Regions from separate parts of the Homo sapiens genome. Here region 2 is linked to region 1. The links are contacts of gene promoters, found by promoter capture Hi-C in blood cells and fetal thymus (Javierre and others, 2016). All regions are on one chromosome and are shown on one strand. The core of a region is centred on a gene start or on the middle of the fragment in contact, and the rest is flanking DNA. Distances in the headings are between cores, read along the strand shown. Region 1 holds the start of FASTK (Fas activated serine/threonine kinase). Region 2 overlaps KCNH2 (potassium voltage-gated channel subfamily H member 2).

Evidence for each region. The method cuts DNA at HindIII sites, captures the fragments that hold promoters and counts their contacts. A CHiCAGO score of 5 or more calls a contact.
Region 2: a contact is called between a fragment that was not itself captured here and the fragment with the promoter of FASTK in region 1, in 1 of 17 cell types (erythroblasts). The highest score is 7.9, in erythroblasts.

Annotation. Positions count from the first base shown.
Region 1 is chr7:151,075,959-151,082,564 of GRCh38, forward strand. FASTK (Fas activated serine/threonine kinase) reads right to left here and starts at 4,851. Exons shown (of 10, transcript NM_006712.5): 1 at 4,727-4,851; 2 at 3,542-3,964; 3 at 2,884-3,063; 4 at 2,604-2,743; 5 at 1,921-2,134; 6 at 1,663-1,822; 7 at 1,352-1,443; 8 at 1,143-1,278; 9 at 955-1,069; 10 at 666-874. The coding sequence starts at 4,808. The coding sequence ends at 767. TMUB1 (transmembrane and ubiquitin like domain containing 1) reads right to left here. Exons shown (of 3, transcript NM_001136044.2): 2 at 6,217-6,606; 3 at 5,127-5,942. The coding sequence starts at 6,605. The coding sequence ends at 5,591. SLC4A2 (solute carrier family 4 member 2) reads left to right here. Exons shown (of 23, transcript NM_003040.4): 22 at 55-228; 23 at 329-565. The coding sequence ends at 409. RefSeq lists enhancers at 1-265, 266-1,241, 3,194-4,170, 4,171-5,146, 5,864-6,158 and 1 more and silencers at 1,044-1,123, 4,586-5,265. The HindIII fragment of the contact is 10,653 bases long and covers 1-6,606 here.
Region 2 is chr7:150,958,122-150,964,727 of GRCh38, forward strand. KCNH2 (potassium voltage-gated channel subfamily H member 2) reads right to left here. Exons shown (of 15, transcript NM_000238.4): 3 at 1,451-1,615; 4 at 1-381. Among named protein-coding and RNA genes, the nearest start is that of KCNH2, 17 kb to the right of the region's middle. RefSeq lists enhancers at 1-123, 3,782-4,391, 4,392-5,001, 4,777-6,606, 5,002-5,611 and 1 more and a silencer at 5,996-6,167. The HindIII fragment of the contact is 8,181 bases long and covers 1-5,341 here.

The sequences.
Region 1 (6,606 bases), core at 3,601-6,100:
CTTCCCAGCAGCAGGCTAGGGAGGAAGCTGGGCTCACCTGTCTCCGCCCCCCAGGTCCGGACCCTCCGTATGCACCTGTTCACGGCCCTGCAGCTGCTCTGCCTGGCCCTGCTCTGGGCCGTCATGTCCACAGCTGCCTCCCTGGCCTTCCCCTTCATCCTCATCCTCACAGTGCCGCTCCGCATGGTGGTGCTCACCCGTATCTTCACCGACCGAGAGATGAAATGTGTAAGCCCTCCCGTCTGCCTCCCCCGGTTCCTCTTGCCTCCCTGTGGATCTGGAAAGGCCCCCCCACTTCCCTTCTTGACCGCCACCTCCCCACACACAGCTGGATGCTAACGAGGCAGAGCCGGTGTTTGATGAGCGGGAGGGTGTGGACGAGTACAATGAGATGCCCATGCCTGTGTAGCCGCCACCGAGGGACAGCCGAGGGACCGATGGACGAGGGGACAGGCTGGTGGGATGGGGTTCCCCCTCCCATGCCCCTCCCTCCTTTTTATTTAAGTGAATAATTTAAAGTCTTCTCCTCCCCCACTGCCCCTGCAGTAAAGTGCTTTGGCCCCCACCTATCTGTGGCCTTTTGTCTTTGTATGGGGGGCGGGGCATGAATGGAAGAGGCGGGGGACTCAGCTCTGCTCCCCGTCCCAAAACTGAGATTCACAACGGGGAAGGAAAGGAACTTTAATGAGAAATCAAAACACAGGGAACCAAAGTGCAAATCATCCACCCCCCATGGGGGGGCCATCCTGAACCCCACATCAACCCCTCAGCCCCCTTCAGGCCCCCAGCGCAGGCCCAGGGCCTGGAGCTTCTGCCTCAGGTAGCTCTTGAGCTGGGGCAGGCCTCTCTGGGACTCCAGTTCCTCGAAGGGTAGCTGTGGGGAGAGGAGAGGGCGGCAGGTTACCCGCAGGCTGGGAGTGAGGATGCGCCACGGGCCAGGCCAGGGCCACTCACCGGCAGGAGCTGGTAGCCCATCAGGCCTAGGTGCCGCTCCCTCAGGGCCCTCGAGCCCAGCAGCACCCGGCCGTCCCGGCAGAAATGCCAGCGTTCCCGCAACACCAGCACCACCCTGCAGGGGGAGGGACGTGGCTCAGGGCATGGCGGGCAAGGTGGCCAGGGCTCCCCCACCCTGCCTCCTTTACCTCTGGGCAGGGTCTCGAGTAGTGGCGCTAGAGGCAGCCTGGCCCTGTGGGCAGGACCTTGGTGGGTATGGCAGGAAGGGGTCCTGGGTCCTCACGGGAAGCACAGCACCAGAGCTGCTGGCGCACAGCAGGAAGTCTGGAGGGGAGCAGGGCCGGCGGCCTTAGCCAGGGCTCCGTCTCCCCGGGCCTGCCGCCTGCCCCTTGCTCACCTGTGCAGTAGCCTGGAGGCACAGTCAGGTCCTGGCGGTATTTCTCCTCCCCCAGCAGCTGGCGCAACCCCTCAGCTACTATGTCCTTGTGACTGAGGAGAAAGGACACCAGTAGCAGGAAGGGCCCGGCACCTCATCCTAATCTGTCCCAGTCTAGTGCCACCACCCTGGGCAAAGCCCTCTGCTGCTTCAGGGCCCAGTTTTATGGTGGCCGAGAGCTCCTTAGCTTTGGCGCTTCATGGTCCCTCTGGCTTTTCCACTCTGCTGGTCCCAGGCTGGCCCCTCCCCTTGCCCCAGGCTGCCCCATCCACCTGTACTTGCAGCGGGCACGGTCGGTGATGAGAGGCTGGGGAAAGATGGGCACTTGCTGCCTTCGGGGAAGGCGGGGACCCCGGTATCCTGGGAGCTCCAGCTCCACGGCCGTGTCCAGCAGGGAGAGGTAGCGACGCACAATCAGAGCATGAGGGGTGCCTGTGGGGAGGCGGGGACTGGGGCTCTGGGCTGCAGGCCACCCTGCTCCCCTGCCTCTCCAGCCCTCAGGGGCCCAGCCAGCCATCCTGGCTGCGTACCACTGATGTAGTTGATGAAGCCAGGGGAAAAAACAAAGTGCAGGGCTCTGAAGGGCAGGCACCGCAGTTGGCACAGTGACATCAAGATGTTGACTGTAGCCAGGGGTGCCACCCCTGCTTCCCGAGCCAGGATCCTCTCAAGGCAGGGCATAAACTGCTGTTCCAGGGGCAGGTAGTTCAGTCGCCCAAAGGGCAGGACCAACTTCTGTACCACCTGTGGAGGAAGAGCAGTTCATTACCCAGTGTCAAGTATTTCTGCAGTCATCTTTTACAAGCTAAGCCTTAGAGAGGCTTAGCCCTCAGGTTTACAACACTGCTGTAAAGACAGGACAGTCCCTCCGGCCTCACAGTTCAACAGCAAAGCAGTCACGAGCTGCACGTGACTAATCACCAGACAGGCAGAGGGGACATCGCTGTGGGGTCTGGCCCTGAAGACTTCGAGAGGGATGGGTGGAGCTAGGATGCTGCTAAGAGTGCTTTGGGAAACTGCAGATTTCCAGGAATGCATGCTGCTGACAGGAGGTGGGCAAGCCACAGAAAGGGTGTAGAAAAGATGCAGGTCCCAGGGGACAGAGAGGGTGTGTCTGCTTCAGGAAAAGGATAGCCGAGCTGCACGAGGCGCTGGGCCTGACAAGGTCCCTGAGAATGACAGAGATGCACTGGAGGGTGGGTGGCAAGCCCACCTTGCTGCTGAGTTGCGTTTCCTGAACCACCAGGAAGTGGGCAATGGCTTCCAGAAGCTGGGGCTCCCGCAACCGGTGCCGGGCCAGGTGCTGGGCCAGGAGCACCATCACGTGGGGAGTCAGTTCCTCTGGCCTTGCCTCTGTGAAGAGCAGCCTGTCACGCTGGGCCTCAGCCGGACCTCCGGCTGGCTCAATTCCACCTCAGCCCAGCCAACTGAGCCCACCTTCCTCCTCCTGTCAGCCCTCCCCACCCCCATCTGATTTTAACCCCCTCCAGCACCTGCCAGGCTGCTGATCAGATGCTGCCGTGGATACCGCAGAAAACGGGGGCAGCTTAGAGCAGCTTCCAACCCTTGCCCACCTCGGAGAAGGGGCTGCAAAGGGGGAGGTGGCTTCGGAGGGAGGCGGAGCCTTCGCTCCTGTTCCAGGGCACACACCAGGGGACCATCAGATGGAAAGCCTGAGGGGGAGAGGTAAAAGGCAGCCTGGTAACAGAGCTGTGCTGCTGTTCTTATCATGGGGTTACTTGGTGAATTCTCCACCTTTCTCCTCTCCCGTTTCCTGAGCGGGAAGGTGTGCTAGAGTTTAAGTGCAAACACTAGAGACATGTAAAGTATCATGTGGCTATGAGGTATCGAAACGGTTTGTAGGGAGTACATACAAAGATGGCAAATAGGCTTTCATCTCATACCAATTGTGACAAATTATGGTGGCTTCCTAGGGCACTCTATTAGCAGGAATCTGGGGTGGCACCCTAGCGAGGCCGGAAGGAGTGCGTTCGACTCATGATGTCTGCCGCAGACATAGGACGGGAGCAGGAGCAAGCGTTCCTGGGCAAACGCCTGAGAGGCTGGGTCTCTGTCCGTGGTCCTCTACTGTTCTCCCTATTCTTCATTAACACCTAGCCCCCCAGGCGCCCACCTCAAGCCCCTCCTCACCAAGTAAGACTGCAAGGTGCAGACACACGTGGATGGTGTGAATGTCAAAGGAGGGGCAGTTTCGGATGATGAGCTGACTCAAGTCCTGCAGTGTGACCTGCTCCACAGGAGGGGGCCGTGGCCGAGACCCCAAGAGCTGGCCCAGACGACGAAGCGCCACCGAGTAGTGGTGGGCGCGCACCTTGCTGGGGTTCTGGCCCAGCCAGCGCAGCAGCTCCCCAGGGCTCTTCGCCTGTTCCAGAAGCCGCTGCAGTCCTTGCACAGGACCTGCACTGGGGCCTCCTCCAACAGGCCGGTCCCCCCATTTGCTGGGCCCCAAACAGCAGGGCTGTACTGGAGGGATCAGCAGCAGGCCAGACAGCCGAGCAGGGGAGGTCTGAGCAGAGAGCAGGACTCGAAGCATGGAGTTGGGTGATGGAGACCCTGAGGGGCAGCCCAAAAAAGGGGGTGAGGTTTTCTCCAAAGGGGAGAAAGACCTGCTACCTACTGCTTACCTCACTCCTCATTTAGGGGGCCTGTGGTCAGAGCAAGCCTTTGTGACTGCTCTGGGCCTCTTCCCCACCCCGCCCCTCTGCCTCCTTCCACGCCTTTGAAACAGCAATCATAATCCTCAGTGCGCTCAGCGCAGCACTACTTGCAAAGCAATTCCACATGCACCATCTCTGATGCTCCTTACACGCCCATGAAGAGTAGGCAGGGCTGGCATTACCTCATTTCACCGGTGGAGAAACGCAGGCCCAGAGCAGCGAAGGGGTTAAGTTAAGCCCGAGGTCATTAACCGGGTTAGTGGTCGCGCCCAGTCTGGAGCCCAGGCGGCACCGGCGTGCACTCTCCCGACCACCTCCCTCTCCCACAGGAGGCGGCGGCGGCACAGAGGGTGGAACGCGGGCTCCGCGGCTGGACGGTGCTGGGTTCCATGCTGGGCGCTCCCACTCACCAGCGGCGTGACCTTGGACAAGTGGCTTCGTCTCTCTAAGTCTCCTCACCCGTGAAATGAAAACGCAGCGCCCACCTCGCAGGGCGCGCGTGGAGCCCGAGTGCACCGCTTTGCGATGGCGCGGAGTCGGCGAAGTCGGGGGCCCCAACACCCACCCCGGCCCAGGGACGCCAGGAGACCGTGGCCGCTGCCGCTAACACCAGCTCCCGCTGCCCTCCCGCAGCCCTCCCCGCAGGCGCCACCCCTACATGACTCCCCGGGCCCTGCGCAGGTCGCTCCCTCAGTCGGTCTCGGGGCCCGGGGGCCGGGTTCCCCCCGCGGCCTCCTCATCGGCTAGCCACCGAGTCCGCCATCTTCCCAGCAGCCCCTAGATAGCCGCCCGGACGCCAATCCCGAAGCAGCTATCGGTCTTCGGAGACGTGGCTCCCGGCAGGCACTGCGAGCCAGGGAGCCGCGAGCCCCGCCCGCGGGAAGTGCGCGCCCGGCGCCGAGGGCGGGGCCACGGAGGCCGGCGCCAAAGCCAGAGCAGAACGCTGGGGAGAAGGGAAGGCGGAGGGCCAGACCCCAGGCGCAGTCCGTGCCCTTCTCTCCCAAGGGGCGAGGACTCCCCGCCCGCCAGCCCGCACACACTCAGACACACTGCAAGAGTGAAAACTTCACAGTTACTTTAATCTGCACGGGTTCCGGGGAACTCCTCTGCCCCTCCCCGCTCCCCTTCACCAGCCTCCCACCGACCTGGCGTCCCCAACTCAGCCCAAGGAGCTGTCAGGGATTGGAGGCGGCTGGGTCCTCCGGCAGAACACTAAGACGGGCCCCCGGGGCGGCCCGGCTCTGCCCGGGGCCGAGGCAGCGACAGCAGATGCCCGACCCCGAGGAGCCCACTCCCAGTGCGGGCTGAGGGTCAGCAGCCCCGGGAGGTGGCCCCGAGCCCCGGCGGTCGCAGGGCGGGGCCTCCGCCAGTCCCGGGAGTCCTCTGCGGCGCAGGGCTGGGCTCCAGGGCGGCGGGAAGAGGCAGGCCGGAGAGGCGGGCCTGGGCAGGCAGCAGCTCCCGCCGCGGCGCGGGGAGCAAGGTCCGGAGGGGCCGGCGACGCTGCCAAGCGCCCGCGGAGGCACTACGGGCGGTACATGGCAAAGGCCAGGAGACTGAGGAGCAGGGTGAAGCCGGCCAGGCCCAGAGTGGCGGTCAGGGGAAAGAAGGGCCGGTACTGGATCTGGCAGTACCAGAGCAGCAGCAACAGCAGGAGCAGCAGGGGCAGCAGCAGGCTGCCGATTTCCAGCCCGGAGGGGCCGGGCTCGGACCCCGGCGGGCAGGGGGGATTTGGGGGACCGACTCTCGTGGACACGTGGCAGTGGAGAACGCAGTTGGGAGGGAGGTGAAGGCTGCCCAGGGTCTGGGTGTCGTCGCCTAGCAGCTGCCCTTGGTAGATGAGTCGCACCTGCTGTTCCCGGCCGGGAAACTGGGTCCTGAGGAGAGAGGGACCTGGGTAAGAGAGCAGGCCTCAGGCAATCCTAGTCCCTGGCCCCGGAACAGCACTCCCACCCTCCCCCTGCCCTCCACAACACACCGGCCCTGGCCTGGGAGGGGCCGTCTGCCAGGGGAACAAGTACAGTTGTGATCTGGGGCGCTCAGCGCCTCCAGTATAAAGGAGGGCTGGGTCTTAGGTGTCTCTGGGGGCCTTCTGCGACCACTCTCCCAACCCCTGTCTTTAGCATTGCTCCTGCCTCTTGACCTACTTACCTTTTCAAGGAGCCAATGGTGTCGTGGGGCCAGGCCCTGGCCACCTGCTCTGAATCATTGAGGAATTTCAGCCGTAGCACGAGGGGCTCCTGCGGGGAGTCCGGGGCTGGCGGTGTTGCTGTGAACCCCGTGCTGGGCTCTGGCTGTGCAGCTTGACCTCTGTGTCTCAGGCTGGGGGTCTCTGCCCCTGGGGCCTCCCCTCTCATGCTGTCGGTAGCTGCCATGGCTGCGCTGGGCTGGGATGGCGTTGGGGTCCCTGACGGCTGGGGCAGTGGGTCCCCGCCCTCAGCGGTGTGCGTTGAGACCCAGGCAAGGGCCAGCACCAGAAGGCAGGCAAGCACCGAGAAAAGGACGGTCACCTCATCACCCACCCCTTCAATCAGGGTCATG
Region 2 (6,606 bases), core at 1-2,500, 120 kb before region 1:
CCGACGAGGCGCGGCGCACGCTGGCGCAGCTTTCTCGGGAGCGCGTCCGGGCCAGGCTGCAGCTGGAGCCCGAGGCGTCGGGGTTGAGGCTGTGCGCCCGGGGCGATGGGAGCTGGCCGGGCGCGCTGCGGGGCGGAGAGCCGGGACCCACCAGCGCACGCCGCTCCTCCGCGGGCCCGAGCCCTGCCACGTGGTTGTCCATGGCTGTCACTTCGTCCAGGGCCAGCGACTCGCTGCTGGGTGCCGCGGGCGTCAGGTCCACGTCCACCACCACGGCCCCCGGGGCGCCCGCGCCGCCCGCGCCGCCCGACCGCACCGACGACTCCCGGGCCGTCAGCGCCAGCAGCGCGGGCAGCTTCAGGCGGAAGGTCTTGGCGCGGCCTGCGGGAGAGGAGAGGCACGTGGTCGTGGGGATCGCGAGCAGCCCCGGAGCGGGCAAGGCCTGGGAAATGGACCCCCAGCCGCTGGGTAAGGGAAGGAGGGGAACGGGCAACCCCCCATCCCCACTTCCATTCACAATATTTTGACCTCGAGTCTCAAAAATCATTCTAGAATCCAGTCATCATAAACCGCCATATCTGAAGTGACACTTCAGGGCGGATTCCATAAATCATCCCTGTCTCTCACACCGGCCGCTGGGTGCCAGCGTCCCCATTTTAGACATGAGGAAGTGTGGACACAAAGGCGTCATGTCACTCTCTGGAGGTCACACAGCCAGTGCGTGGGGCCTGCGCCTAAGTGGGCGACACAATGCCAGGGGCCCTGCCGTCAGGGGTGGCATCCGATGAGCAGGTAGGGCCAGTTTTACTGACACTGTCATTTTAGAGTGTAAGAAACCAAGAGGTGAGCACTTTTGTCATGATGCTGAGGGAAAGATTAAAATTAAGCCAAAGAGGGCATCCTGACAGAGGAAGGGGCTCCGAGCCTTTGTTGTCAAGGGGATGGTCCAGCCCAGGTGGGCATTCCCTCAAAGCCTCTCCTCAGCTAGCCCAGACCCCCAGGAAACTTGGCCAGTCCATGAACAAGGAGCAGATGAAAGAAACTACACACAGCTGAGTCCATAGGACACAGCTTCCTACTGAGGGGAGGAGCTGCTCCCAGGTGGTCATGTTCCCCACCCTGGGCTGCTCAAGCCAGGCTGGAGAGAGGACCGCTCCCAGGGGATGCTGGGATGGGAAGCCCAACAGATGAAGCTAGGGAAACGGTGCTAGCCCACGCCAAGGACCTGTGATTCTGGGCCCTGTCATTCCACCCCTATGTGTCCATCCTGGGCCAGGGGAACCAAGCCACATCCTCAGGGTACAGGGTTCACTTCCCACCTCCAAAGGGGGGACCCCCCACCCAACCATTACATCCTCCCTTCCTGCAGAGCGTTGACCTTGGACAGCTCACAGCCCCAAAGAAATGAGACCACGAACCCCTGAGCCTGCCCTAAAGCAAGTACACTTACCTGGGGCCAGCCAGCTGGTGGGGGGGCCCCGGTGGTTGGTGTCATGAGCCGGGGACCCCACCATGTCCTTCTCCATCACCACCTCGAAATTGAGGATGAACATGATGACAGCCCCATCCTCGTTCTTCACGGGCACCACATCCACCAGACATAGGAAGCAGCTCCCTGCAGAGTGGGAGGACATAGCCCCCTTGGCACCCACTCAGTGGGCAGAGCAGAAAGCCACGCAGGATGGACCCTGGAACCCAAGTGGGCCCGTCCACTTCTGCCTCCCCGTATGGCCCTTCCTCTCCGGGATCTCCCGTCCTGATCCCCCACCCGGCCATGTGCCTGCCGCCCTTATGGCTCCCCTCAATCTGTCTACCCCAGCTTGTTGCTGCCAGGCTCCCCTACCCCTCTCTCTGCCTATATGATTTATCTAGCTCTTTCCCGGCTGCACTTTTTCTCACGCTGGCTATGATCCTTTCTTCTGCCATCTTTGATCTCATTTCCTCCCTATCTCATTTCCTCATATCCTCCCAGCACCTCTGCCTTTCCCTCAAGCGAGGCGCTGTAGCACAGTGCTTAAGCCCACAGACTTTAGGCCTACGATCTCTGGGTTCATAGCCCGGATCTGCTGCTTAATCACTTATGCTTTTTTCCTAAATTATTTAACATCCTTGTGCCTCATTTTTTCCATCTATAAAATGGGAAGAATAATAATTTTTTCTTTTTAAAATTTTTTAACTTTTTAATTGACACAATAATTGTACATATTTATGGGGTACACAGTGATGTTGTGATACACATAATGTATATAATTCTTTTCTCATGAGTTATAAAGATTAACCAAGTCAGCACATGCTGAGCGCTTAGGCAATGCCTGGCGTATGCCGCACACTACAGACGGTTAGCTGTTACTATCTGTCTCTCTGTTCTCTCTAGATTAGCACCAGCCGTTGTGTCAGCACACAAGATAAGGACAGACGTTGAGAGCAAGAATTTCAAAAACTTTACAGCAATTTGGCATCACCACAAAATCCACGCATGTGCTCTTGTATTTCACAGATGTACCAGCCTATAACATATTAGCATTAAAAAACACTGATCCTTCACCAAAGAGTCTAAGAAGCACTGCTTCTAGATCTTTCATCTTCACCTCGCCTCGCGTTCCCCTCGATCCTTGACTTTTTCTTTTCCAGTCTCTCTCTGTCCACCAAAGGCCCTGTACCAGATGAGGTCAGTCCCCTAAGCCAAGCACCCCTGGTCTCCCTCAGCTCCCTGTTGAGCACATGGGCCCCCTGCTGCCCCACCGCCCCCCGCCCCCCAACCCGTGCTGATTTCTGAAGGAGCCCCTTTTAGGCCAAGCACTCAGTTCCACCTAAGGCCCAGCTCAGAACCTCCTGCCCACAGGAAGTCCTTAATGAAACCAGAAGGCAGTTAACAGCCCGCTCCAGCTCCTCTATGGCCCCCCAGGGACCCACCAGGCAGGCTCCTCATCTCCCACTCTCCCTAGGGAGCCTCTTCCTTCCTCTCAGCTCCCCCTCTGCTCAGCTGTCTTCTCTGCCTCCCAGTGTCTCCCGTCCCCACGTTAGTGCCTAGCACCTAGAGTCATACGCCCTGGGGCCAGCACTGGCTGGTGGTGTCAGTGACAGGCCATGCTGACAGGGAGGCTGCAGGCATGGGGGAGAGGCAAGGGTGACAAACCATGCAGTCCCACTCCATCTTAGCAACCCAGCCTCACTTTTTTTTTTTTTTTTTTTCTGAGACAGGGTTTCACTCTGTCACCCAGGGTGGAGTGCAGCGGCATGATCTTGGCTCACTGCAACCTCTGCCTCCCAGGTCCAAGTGATTCTCCTGCCTCAGCCTCCCAAGTAGCTGGGACTACAGCTGCATGCTACCACACCCAGCTAACTTTTGTATATTTTGATAGAGACAGGGTTTTCACTGTGTTGGCCAGGCTGGTCTCAAACTCCTGGCCTCAAGTGATCTGCCTGCCTCGGCCTCCCAAAGTGCAAGGATTACAGGTGTGAGCCACCGCACCCAGCCTCTCCTCACCTTTCTACCTCCTAGAGCCTCCCTGGCTCACCCCTACTCCTGATCTCAAACCCACAGCAGGGGCGACAGTGGTGGTGCTGTGAGTCAAGGTAGAAGCCGGCAACAGACACCGGCAACCTGGAGGCGACGCCACCCCTGGGACTTGGAGCTGGTGCTTGAAGCCTGACAGTGAGGTCAAGGGGCTGCGTGCTGGGGAGGCAGGGAGCAGGCCAGGTGGGAAGGGCCTGATGCATGGCAGATGCTGGCCAGGCTCGGGGATTCTAACCCGCTGGGGATTCATCTAGGGGAACGAGGTCTTCTGAAACCAGCTTAAACAGGATGGCACTAGGTGAAGGGGCTGGCCAGGAACTCTCCGCCCCACCCCACAGCTCTTCCACTCACCACATCCCAGACCCTCACAGCCCCGCCCGAGGGCCCTGAGCTCTGGGGCTCTGTCTGGGTCTCCCTGCAGCAGCCACTCTTGTCCCCTGACCTCTGGCCTCTGACACACAGCAGTGGTGTTGGAAGCTGCAGGGGGCTGGGCCCAGCTGGAGACCATTTGGCACCCAGACAGCCTGCCTGGAGTTTATGCCCTAATATGGTGATGGCCGGCAGCGGCCTGAACAGGGATGCGCCTCACCAGGACTGAGGAGAGGCTGGAGACCAGGAAGCCTTAGCCCAAGAGACCCCAGCACCCACCCCAGGGACCACAGCCAGCCAGGCCCTCGAACCTAAGTCCTCCACCAGGGAGCTTGCCTCAGAGAAGTCTAGAGTCTGGAGCCAAGATGGACTCAAACTTCAGAATGGGCTGGAGACTGTCCCCAACACAGGGCCCCAGAAATTCCAACCTTGAGACCTCAGCAGCCCGTCCCCTCTTCAGCTCAAGCTGCTCAGCAAGACAGCCCAGAATGGCATTCTGAAGCCCACCCAGTCCAGGACCCCACATCTCAAAATCCCCTGCCAGGGTCGCAGAAACTCTAGGTATACGCCACCTCACAGCACAAGCCTGTAACTCACACTTACACACACACACGAGAGACAGAGAGAGAGAGAGAGAGAGAGAGAGGAGTGACTGCTGGCCCTCTTCCTTTGTCGAGATTCAAGAAATTTTTCCTTTCAAAATAACCCTGTCAAAGGCCTGGTTATTCAAAAAATGTGAACTGGAGCCCTGCCTGATGGCAGGGGCTGGGGCGGGGGAGATCTAGCGATCATCAAGGGGATGTGGAAGGAAGGAAAGTAGGGGCCCCAGATAGGCCTGGGCTCTCAGAGGCACTGCCTGCAACCACCCTGCCGCGTCGGCTGGGGCTTCGGTGAACTGCCACATCACCTGCTCCCAGCTCTTCAGCCAGGCCTCCCAGCCAGACTCCATCCCACCACTGGCTGGGTTATGGGGGGATGGGAGTCCCTTCACTTGCCCCAGTGCCACCTACTCCAGACCCCCAGGCCCTCGCTCTGCTCCCTTCTCCCACCGACTCGCCCTGGCTCCTGCCAGTGGCCCCAGCTCCCCAGGGCAGAGACGAAGGACCCAGCTGCTGCAGGCTGCAGTTCCGCTGAGAGCCACTCCGTGGCAGGCACAGCCCACACTCCCGAGGCAGCCAGCACTGGGCGCACTCAGGGGGCAGCCAGGACAGACAAGGAGGGCGGAGGGGGTGCAACAGGGGAGAGGGTTCCCAGTCTCAAAGGGAGGGGGCATGGGCTGTGGAGTCAGGTGGCCTCTGCACATTGCATTAGAATGACTTTGGGCCGGTCACTTACCGGCCCAGAGCCCCGGGGCGCTCATCTGCAACACAGGGTGATCCTGCCCACCCCCTAGGGCCGTAGGGGTGAAATGGCCTAAGATATGTGAAGCTCAGAGCCTGGCTTGAGGTCACCATAAGCTTGAGACAGAAGAGAGGCAGACAAGGGTGGAGGGAGCTTAGCAATGAGAGGCCCCAGGGCCAGCCTGGCTCATGTGGCTAATGCCAGAACACTCTGCCCTGGCCCCATTCCCACCCCAGCCCCAGCCCCGACCCCACTCCCACCCCAGCCTCAGCCCCAGCGCTGGCTGAAGACACCTTACTTTGGGTGAGAAGGTTCTCCCTGCCTGGCCCAGTTCTGCTTCCTGGGCCCTCTGAAAGGGGAGGCACCCATGGACGCAACCATCCCTGCACAGGCTCCATGGCTCCTTAGAACCCCCGTGCCTTTGGGCCCAATGGCCTGGGTGAGGCAGGCAGGCTGGCCACCTAGCAGGCCTCCAGAGGCCATGCAGCTCAGAGCAGAGCGGGAGAGCCAGGCCTGGACACATTCCCAGAGTGGCAGGTACAGCGCCATCCTGCTACCACAGAAGGTGTCCATCACTTCTCAGAACACAACGCCGGCTTGCTTTCATTTGGTGCCAATCCACACCCAGCAGTCTACCTGGGGTGGGGGGCACTGTTCCTGCCCAGCATCCCAACCCATCCGAGGTCAGGGGCTCCACCCAATTCCCCACCTCTGGGCACCGCTAGCCTAGGCCAGGCCCCAGGCAGGAGCCACATTTGGCTGTGGCAGGGGCAGGCCTTATCTCCCATGTCAGCACCAGGTGGGGAGGAAGAGGCTGCAGATGGCCCTGAGTGACCTTAGGCACCTTCTGGGGTCAGAGTCTCCGTGCGCTCCTCCGTAAATGAGGTGCTATCACAGCTTCTTCCCAGGCAGCTCCTCCCAGTCCTCTGCAAATCACTAAGCACATCCGTGCCTGCGAAGTGTTGAGCCACCGTGACCAACAAGACACGCCTGGCACCTGCCCCCAGTGAACCACCCATCCAACAGGACCCCAGTTTGATGCATGGGCAAGAGGGAAGGAGAGGGAACAAGCCAGACAGGTGGAGGAGCCCCAGGGAGCCGAGCCACTCTACCCCAGCCATGGTGGCTCCTGCGTTCCCTCTATTTTCTGTGGCTATGGGCAGGTCACCCACCTCCCTGGGCTTCAGGCTCCCTGCGGGTACTGTGGGGACAAGTGATTCCTGCACTGGGTGCCAGATGAGATGACAGATGGCTTTGTGGAAGCATCCAGAATTCTAACAAGGCGGGGTGCTGGGTCCCTGCAGGGAAGGTGACCTCAGGGAGGCAGCCATCCTCGCCCTAGTCGCCTCCCTGCCTCGCTCGGAGCAGGAGGAGCTGTG